Regions from separate parts of the Homo sapiens genome. Here regions 1 and 2 are each linked to region 3. The links are contacts of gene promoters, found by promoter capture Hi-C in human tissues and cell types (Jung and others, 2019). All regions are on one chromosome and are shown on one strand. Each heading gives the region's core, a stretch centred on a gene start or on the middle of the fragment in contact. The rest is flanking DNA. Distances are from core to core; before and after follow the strand shown.

Region 1 (3,063 bases), core at 71-2,570, 68 kb before region 3:
GGGATTATAGGTGTGAGCCACTGCGCCCAGCCTACACTTATAAGAGTTCTAAAATCATACAGTGTTAGAACTGAAATGAAGTATAGAGGTCACCTGGCCTATTTTATACGGAAAGAACTGTGGCTCGGAAAAGGTCATGTCATGCAAGGCCTCATAACGGAGTAGTGGCAGCTCTGGAACTAAAGATCTGTCTTACTTGTCTATTACTATGGTTATAATTTAATTTTTTTGAACGCTATCTGAGTTCTAAGTGCTCAGGGCCTAGTATGCAAGTTTACGCCAAGTATGTAAACTTGCTTCTAAATTGGAATGCTGATCATACTTTTAGCAATGGGGAAGTAAACACTGTTGAAGACATTTCAATATCATTCCCTTGGGGAGTAACAGGGCTTCAATGAGAATATTATAAGCTACCACCTGAAAACCTCATTTTTCTACAAAGGTTGCCCAAGGGGCACTGAGGTGGCAGTTCAGCTGGCTGTTGAGTCTCTGCTCCCAGACTGGTGAGTTGGGAAGCAAACTTGTTTCTTCTGTTCTTTCTTCATTCTCCCAAATAATACCAAGTAGGGGAAGCTCACCCCAAGCCCCCATCTGGCTTTCCTTTTTTTTCAACTTGAGGTATAATTAACATACAATAAAATATGCAGATGTTAGGTGTTCAGTTGGTAAGTTTTGATAATTGTATAAACCATGTAACCAGCATGAATAAAGAATACACAGAACATTTCATCTCCCCAGAAATATCCCCCATGCCTCTTTGAGTCCCCCAACCCCACACATATATACAAAACCATTTTCTATCACTATGGATAAGTTTTGTTTTTGGATTTCATATAAATGGAATCACACAGGATATACTCTTTCATAGCTAGCTTCTTTTAGCTTAGCATGTTTTTGGAATTTATCCATGTTGCATATATCAGTAGTTTTTTTCTGTTTTGCTTTTCTGAGTGGTAGTCAATTGTGTGGATATATAAGGAGAAAAGGTAGAGGTTGGTGAAGGGCTTTCATCTGGCACGTAGCCTGACTACCCTTTGCTCAAGAGCATTTGGACCACCAGAGGCCCCCCTCCTTAAGATTAAGATGTTCACTTACCTGCTTTAAATGTACCACGTCACAGCATATACACTATTATGTAGCTATGTCTTGTAAAAGTCTCTAATCGGCATCCATTAGATGAGCCGAATTCTCCTGGCCAAGCCTTAGCCTCTCAGGGGGCTGGCACCAAACAGGGAGGCTGGAGTAGGGTTTCAAACACCTGTTTCAGCTTTTTAAGTGTCCGATTCAGGCCACTGTGCTCTGGCAGCAGGGATCCTCATGATGTGGCTTCTTCTCTCCTGCCAAATCCTCAACTTAAAGAACCTAGGCCCTTAGGGGAGGAAAATATAGAGCTGGTGGAGAGGGGAGGGGTGTGCAGCAACATTGAAGAACTGTTTCTTTTAAAGTTAAATGCACATCTACCCTGTGGCTGAGCACTTTCGCTCTTAGGTATTTAGTCAAGAGAAACAAACACATTTACAAAGAGACTTTTATAGGAATGTATACAGCAGTAATAGTAAATAACTGGAAACAACTCAAATATCCTTCAATAAGAGAATGGATAAATTCTTTGGGAGTGAAGGACTTACAGAGGATTCTCTGGCGGCCCTCCTCTCTTTCTAGGAATCATTCTTGTTTCTATTCTTATTTCTTTCTGGATTTTTCTGAATTTGGTTGTGTTTTAAATGCCATGTAATGGAATACCCATTATTTGTAAGTTGATTGAGCATAAAGTATTTTATTATAAAGTGGTCATCCGTCACAAGAAGGCATGTGGCTGTAAAAAACATTAACTCTGCACTCTGGGCTGGAATGCAACTTTACCAGAATAATGGAGCTTTTGTATTAAGTGTGCAGTTGGGATAAAACAAGAGACAGACAGACAGACAGTGTTGGGGAAACAGGTGTTGGCTGGGCCCAGCTTCTGTCCCATGTTTTGTGAAATTGTTTTCCAACCCTTTGAGGATTGCTCCTCCAGATTCAGCTGTCTTAAAGGTTCTGTCAGCACCTTTCGAGCAAATAAGGTGTGACTTTTCAGGGTACTGCTGCTTCCATAAGCTTTATTTGTTTACTGTCCAGCTCACAGACATGTCTAGAGACAGCAGTGGCAAGTGATTACCATACTTATCCTAGCTCCATCTATTTTTGACGCTTTTGTTTTCCCCATCAGTAAAATGGGAAATATCCCTTATCATAAAGTTCTTGAGCCTTTTAGCATGAGGGTGGCTGAAACAGCATAAAGACTTCTTAATCTGGCTGGGCACAGTGGCTCATGCCTATAATCCTAGCACTTTGGGAGGCCAAGGAAGGAGGATCACTTGAACCCAGGAGTTCAAAACCAGCCTGGGAAATAATAGCAGGACCTCGTCTCTACAAAGAAAAAATTTTTTTTAATTAGCCAAGTGTGGTGGCACACGCTTTAGTCCCAGCTACTTGGGAGGCTGAGGTGGAAGGATTACTTGAGAGGTTGCAGTGAGCCGAGACTGTGCCACTGCACTCCAGCCAGGGTGACAGAGTGAAACCCTCTCTCAAAAAAAATAAAAATAAAAAGACCCCTTAGTCTTGTTGTCACTAAGAATTTATGATATGCTGCTGTAGTAACTATTTCCAGCTCTTGGGAAAACATTAACTCTGTACTCTGATAGTACAGTAAGTGAGAGTGAATAAGTAAGGTCCTATACACTGAAGGGATAGGGAAAGGTTACTTATCAGTCCTGTTATTGAGACTGGGGACTGTCTGATTCTTCTCCAGGAGCTTTGACTATTATCTCTTCAGGCTTTTTCATCATCTGTAAACTTTGCTAATGTCAGTTCAGAATTTAGTTCTTTTTAATTTCCTCTTTGTCTTTTTCAGGGCTGGTAGAGAAGACCTGACATAGTTATAATTGATAATAAACCTATAATGCTGCTGTTGAACAATGAAATTTTTTACTAGACTCTGAAAGGAATTTGTATTGAAAAAGCTGCTCCAAGTGTAATGACTGCATAAAGCTGGGGTAAATTGTTCTGTTGTCAAGTATACCA
Region 2 (3,268 bases), core at 608-3,107, 110 kb before region 3:
GATTTGGGTTGGGTAAATATAGCAGGAGCAGGATGTCAGTGTGGGAGATGGATTGTTCTGGGAAAGGAAGTGTTGTCTTTCGTCTGAGAAACAATTTCCTGCACTTCTGGGACTTTTGCTTTCTTCTTTTTCTTTTTTTTCCCAGGGCAGAGCAGGAGTTGGCAGGGGATGGGTACACTTGCTGAATTCTATCTCTGGATGTCTGCATGTTTCTACATTTGAAGTTGGGAGTAGAGATCAGATCTGTTTCAGCCAGTTAGGAAATGGACCTAATAAATTATCGTACCCATGCCTTAAGTTTCACTTTTTGAAGTTTTAAATTAAAGCACCTATCTGCTTAAAGCCTCTTTTTAAAAAGTTACTGTTCTTTTAGTGAAATAGACGGGTTGAGAGGCAAAAATAATTACGTAAAGAAAATCAACTCTATTGCAAGTCAGACATGAGGCACCAGCTGGCAGGAAACAGCTGGGATATTTCTGGGGGCTAGACTCTTCCACACCAGCACTTAACTCTTCAAGTGATCTCTGTTATCTGAGCTACTTAAGATAGCTACCTACCTTACCAACAATCTGCATAAAATACTAAATCTACTAAATTATGTGATATTTTACAATTGACTAGAACTTTATAATTTATAAAGTGGTTTTTCATTATAGCCTTTCAATTTTAGAATCTATAAAGCACATAAATTATAATCTATAAATTATATTTTTATAAATTATCTATAAATTATATTTATATAAATTGTTATATTATAACTTAGACTCATACATAATCTATAATAGATTATTTCTATAAACATATTTATAGAAGAGTTGTAAAGAAGTTCTCATCTATCCAATGCCCAGTTTCCCCTGTTATTAACATCTTACATTAATATGACACATTTGTCACAATTAATGAACAAATATTGATTCATCATTAATTAAAGTCCATACTTTATTCAGATTTCATTAGGTTTTTACTTAATGGCCTTTTTCTGTTCAAGGATTCCATCTAGGATACCACATTACATTTAGTCATCACATCTTGTTAGGTTCCACTTGGCTGTAACAGTTTGCCTGTATTCTTTTTCTTTTCTTTTTTCTTTCTTTTCTTTTTTTTTTTTTTGAGACAGAGTCTCGCTCTGTCGCCCAGGCTGGAGTGCAGTGGCGCGATCTTGGCTCACTGCAAGCTCCGCCTCCCAGGTTCCTGCCATTCTCCTGCCTCAGCCTCCTGAGTAGCTGGGACTACAGGCGCCCACCACCACACCCGGCTAATTTTTTTTTTTTTTGTATTTTTTAGTAGAGATGGGGTTTCACCGTGTTAGCCAGGATGGTCTCAATCTCCTGATCTTGTGATCCACCCGCCTCGGCCTCTCAAAGTGCTGGGATTACAGGTGTGAGCCACCGCGCCCGGCCGCCTGTATTCTTTTCAAGTTTCACAAAAACTCACAAGATAGACTGTGCCTTTATTAATATTCCCCTTTTACAGATAAAACTCAGGTTCCAGAAAAATTAAGTAACATTTTCAAGGTTATACAGTAAAAGCTTCTTTTAAAGTGTGATTATGATTTGGAAAAAGGCGATGAGGTTATTTATTTGCTTTTCACGTGAATAAGGGCAGACTTACAGCTAACCTTCAGGTGGGCCATTTACTGAAGAGGAACAAGAGACAGAGGTGAGTCTAGCTTGTTCCTGGACTCTTCTGTCTTGCTGGAGACAAATTAACATTATTATTTTAATCACAATTATTTTGGGAAAACCCCTTTCTCTTTGATTCTGCTATGTCTACCAAAGGAACTGATGGCAGAAAATCCTGAGTTAGCCTTGTTCCCTGGCAACAGACTTCAGGCTGCTTACTGGTCCCTGTTGTTGGATACCAGGTTCAGTAGGAAAGTCTGCTGAGAGTATAGCATGAACACTAACCCAACTAGCCTATTTCCAGCACGTGTGGTGTTAACTATCTGGGAATAGGAACATGAGTTTTTAAATTCCAGTCTCTAATTGGGTAGGCTGAAGTTCTGGCTTGGAGTAAGGAGATTCACAGAACTGCAGTGCTAAGAGATAGTAGAAAAATTTAAAAATTCAATAAGACATGGCACTTAACTGACTCTGAATGCTCTGTCCGGAGGGATGAGTAAAGGGGAGAGGTGAGAGGAGGTAAAGTAGCGGGTTACTAATGATCCTAGATACTATTAAAAGATTATCACAAGGAGGTGGAAACTATTGAGGTACAAACCATCAGATCTTAAGGTAAGGAGTCACTCATCTTGCCCAGAGAAGTAGTAGTGAAGATAGTACCTGGATCCTAAAAGGTAACTTTTAAAGTACTTCAACCTAAGATGACAGAGGGTAGGCAGTTTATTGATACCCTTAACAACCACTTGTTAGTAGAGCCATTTTAATTAATGGGAAAGGGGATCATTCTCCGTTTATGCTTTTATTATATGTAGCTATGAGCATAGAAGCTGTGTTTGGACCCTCTGGTGACTATTGCCCTCTTCTAGTTGTGTCCAGGCACAGGTAAATTCTTGAGGCCAGGAAGGGCCTGGCTTTATCTCCAAAAGGAAGCTGTGGAAATAGCAATGAGCAAAACAATGAGAAAGAGCTTTAGAAAATTTGCAAATATTGTGTATCTTCATGGCATGATGAAGTGGGATTAGGACAGGGGAGAAAGTATAAACCACCAATTATAGGAGTCTTTAAGGGCTTGGGTGACTGAGGCCTTCTGCTAGGAGGCTGGGAGGTTGTTGATGACAGCAAAGATGTAACAGGTATTGAATACTAGAGGATAGACCTCATACTCTGAAAATGCTTTTGCCTCAACAATTTGAAAGAGAAATATGAAAGACAAAGTGACAATATGAAGAATGACTATTCAAAGTGCTTCTACCAGTAAGTCTTGTCTGTTGGCAAGTTTTAACCTGTAGGTAGGGGAAAAACGTGGGAGGATCTCTTATTCAGAATGCAAAACAGGAGACAGTGAAGTACCTGTGTTTCCAAAGAACTCCGAATTGAGCTGTGGTGGAAGAGGAGGAAATTTCTTACTGTGGTCTTGTATAATGTGAAATCTTTGTGAAGTCTCAATAGATGTTAAGTCTCCAAGGAGGGGAGACTTTTTAGCTGCTAAAGAAGCTTAGGTTCAGTGAGCCTCCAGTGGGAATACAGACATAGACGTCCACTGACATTTCTGCAACCAGTTTTGGTGAGTGGAAAGCAACTAGGTAAGTTTCACTTTTTGCAAGAATCCCAAGTGACCCTTTGCACTATGGACTGAGGTACCTGCT
Region 3 (2,876 bases), core at 5-2,504:
GTGACGCACGGAAACGTCATGGGAATTCCCCCCTCCGGGGGGCCGAGAAGGGGCTTTCCCGGCCCTGAGCCCTGCTGGCAGGCGAGGTGTCGCGACCGGTCCCAGGTGGGTCGGGCGCGGAGAGAAGCCGCAACCAGAGCCGCCGCCACGGTGAGTGGCTGGATTCAGACCCCTGGGTGGCCGGGACAAGAGAAAAGAGGGAGGAGGGCCTTTAGCGGACAGCGCCTGGGGCTGGAGAGCAGCAGCTGCACACAGCCGGAAAGGGCGCGCAGGCGACGACACTCGGATCCACGTCGACACCGTTGTACAAAGATACGCGGACCCGTACGTACACCTGTACCTGTGCTGGCGCACACACGGCAGCGTCCGTGCAGTCGCACTCGCACACACATGCACACGGAGACGTGCCCACCGGTGCACTGGTGCCTGCACCCACACCCTTCACGCACAAACTCAAGATACGCTCACCCGTGTCCGTACATCAAGACAGGCGCTGACACACACCCACACTGAGAAGCTCGGGATTCACCTATCTACACACATGCTCGCTTGCACACTCATGTTGACGCCATGGACACACAACATGCAACCAAGCACTACAGCCGAAACACACTTGTGGAGCTGTGATGGAGACACACTCTTGTATTAGGTGGGGGGGGGGGGGGGGGAGCGTGCAGAGATCTCCCTGTCGCCTGCGCGCCCAGAACCGGTGCGGTGTGGGACCAGCTGCTGTTGTGAGGTTTGGGAGAGAGAGAAAAGAGCCCACTCCGAGGAGGAGACACTTTTCCCGCAGCCCCAGAATCGCGTTCTCGGGGCAGAACCCCGGGGCCTCCCACAGGAAAGAGCCCCCGCCTACAGGCTGTTCGAAGGGGAGGCCGTCCGACAGCAGGAATGTCCCCCCAAAAGCCCCCGGGGTTTATCAGCCGTGGCCTCCCTCCTGGCAGAAAATCCCAAGGTTGCTCCAGACCGGGGGAGGGGAGCGGGAGGCGGACTTGGCCCCAGACTGCCAGCCTCCTCCCGGCCGTGAAAGACCCTCCTGTTCCCTGCCCTGGAGGGAGGAGGGGGCTTAACCCCCACCGGGGCTTCCCGGATTCTCCTAGACCTCTGCCCGCTGAAAAGCAGCGGGAGCCCGTAGACTGTCGAGGGCCTCCCGCCCCTCCCGTCGCGAGGGCGGGGCCAGTGGCGTCATTTCCAGGCCCGCCCCCTCCGGCCCCGCCTCCCCTTGGTATTTTCGGGACTTTCCTAAGCTGCTCTAACTTTCCTGCCCCTTCCCCGGCCAAGCCCAACTCCGGATCTCGCTCTCCACCGGATCTCACCCGCCACACCCGGACAGGCGGCTGGAGGAGGTCGGACCCTCCCCCAAATCTGGGCCCCCATCTCCCGCCCACCCCCATTTAGATCTGACCCCCTCCCCCACGCCACTCCTCCCAACTTTAGGCGGGCGTCTAAAATTCTGGGAAGCAGAACCTGGCCGGAGCCACTAGACAGAGCCGGGCCTAGCCCAGAGACATGGAGAGTTGCTACAACCCAGTGAGTCATGCCGCCTGCCCCTGACCCGGCCGGCTGCCCCTCGTGTCTGTCCACCTGTCTGCCCGAGCCCCCTCTGCTGCCTTACACCTGTATGCTCGCAGATGCTCTCAGCCTGCCAGTCTGTCCATCTGTCTGCAACTCTGCCTCCAAAAGGAGCTTTCTCTTGGGTCTGAGGAGGAGGGGGGAGTGACCACTGAAGACTTGGAGATGGGAGGTGGGGCTGTGGGGGGTGCTGAGAGTCGGATGCCACCCCCAGTCTGTCTCCAAACCAGGGTCTGGATGGTATTATTGAATATGATGATTTCAAATTGAACTCCTCCATTGTGGAACCCAAGGAGCCAGCCCCAGAAACAGGTCAGCAAGTTCACTAACCTCCCCTAGTCCTAAAGCGGGGGAGGGAGAGCATGTGCCCTCTCTCTGGGGGAGGGGCTGGGAGATCGTGGCTCAGCAAGGTCTCTCTGTCCCCAGCTGATGGCCCCTACCTGGTGATCGTGGAACAGCCTAAGCAGGTGAGTGAGCAAAAGGGAGGGTGTGGAATGGCTTCAGCTTTGGGGACAAATGGGGTAGTGGTAGCTGGCTGGCCATGGAGGAGCCATTGCCGAAGGAGGCCACAGGGGATTGGATGGTCACTGCTGCTGATCAGAGTGCTGTAGTTTGGTTCAGGGCTACTACCAGGCACTGCGGTCACTGCTGGCCTGGGTGGTCTTCCCTGATCACAATGCTACTATGCCCTTGGACCTTCAGAGAGGCTTCCGATTTCGATATGGCTGTGAAGGCCCCTCCCATGGAGGACTGCCCGGTGCCTCCAGTGAGAAGGGCCGAAAGACCTATCCCACTGTCAAGGTGAGCCAGGATGGTGCTGGAGGGTGGGCTAAGTGGACAGCATGCCCAAGGCCCTGACTGACAGTCCCTGCCTCTCCTAGATCTGTAACTACGAGGGACCAGCCAAGATCGAGGTGGACCTGGTAACACACAGTGACCCACCTCGTGCTCATGCCCACAGTCTGGTGGGCAAGCAATGCTCGGAGCTGGGGATCTGCGCCGTTTCTGTGGGGCCCAAGGACATGACTGCCCAGTAGGTGCCCTCTACGCCTGGCCCCCACTGGTATGCCCGTCTGCCAGTCCCAGGCCCCAGCCCACCTCCATGAGCTTAGCATCTGACCAAGGGGAAAGATGTAGGTTGGCCCCAAACCCAAGGGCCTAAGTAGAAACTCCAATGGCTTCCTTGAGGAAGTAAGGCTGAGCTGAGCCCTGGCAATGGGAAAGGTGCCTCAGGAAGAAAGAACTGCATGGCCAAAGGCCTCCGATTCTCTCTTCTCAGATTTAACAACCTGGGTGTCCTGCAT

What was found. The method cuts DNA at HindIII sites, captures the fragments that hold promoters and counts their contacts. A contact is called where the count stands out against the background at its distance.
Region 1: a fragment that was not itself captured here is called in contact with the fragment with the promoter of NFKB2 in region 3 in 2 of the 25 tissues and cell types used here (neural progenitor cells and psoas muscle).
Region 2: a fragment that was not itself captured here is called in contact with the fragment with the promoter of NFKB2 in region 3 in 3 of the 25 tissues and cell types used here (bladder, hippocampus and neural progenitor cells).

Annotation. Positions count from the first base shown.
Region 1 is chr10:102,325,918-102,328,980 of GRCh38, forward strand. The region is part of intron 3 of GBF1 (golgi brefeldin A resistant guanine nucleotide exchange factor 1); the gene reads left to right. Among named protein-coding and RNA genes, the nearest start is that of NFKB2, 68 kb to the right of the region's middle. The HindIII fragment of the contact is 7,490 bases long and covers 1-3,063 here.
Region 2 is chr10:102,280,835-102,284,102 of GRCh38, forward strand. All of the region lies in intron 3 of GBF1 (golgi brefeldin A resistant guanine nucleotide exchange factor 1), which reads left to right. Among named protein-coding and RNA genes, the nearest start is that of GBF1, 37 kb to the left of the region's middle. The HindIII fragment of the contact is 3,528 bases long and covers 94-3,268 here.
Region 3 is chr10:102,394,451-102,397,326 of GRCh38, forward strand. NFKB2 (nuclear factor kappa B subunit 2) reads left to right here and starts at 1,255. Exons shown (of 23, transcript NM_001322934.2): 1 at 1,255-1,346; 2 at 1,438-1,530; 3 at 1,803-1,884; 4 at 1,999-2,039; 5 at 2,275-2,373; 6 at 2,454-2,605; 7 at 2,852-2,876. The coding sequence starts at 1,510. RefSeq lists enhancers at 1-220, 1,271-1,320, 1,731-1,850. The HindIII fragment of the contact is 8,929 bases long and covers 1-2,876 here.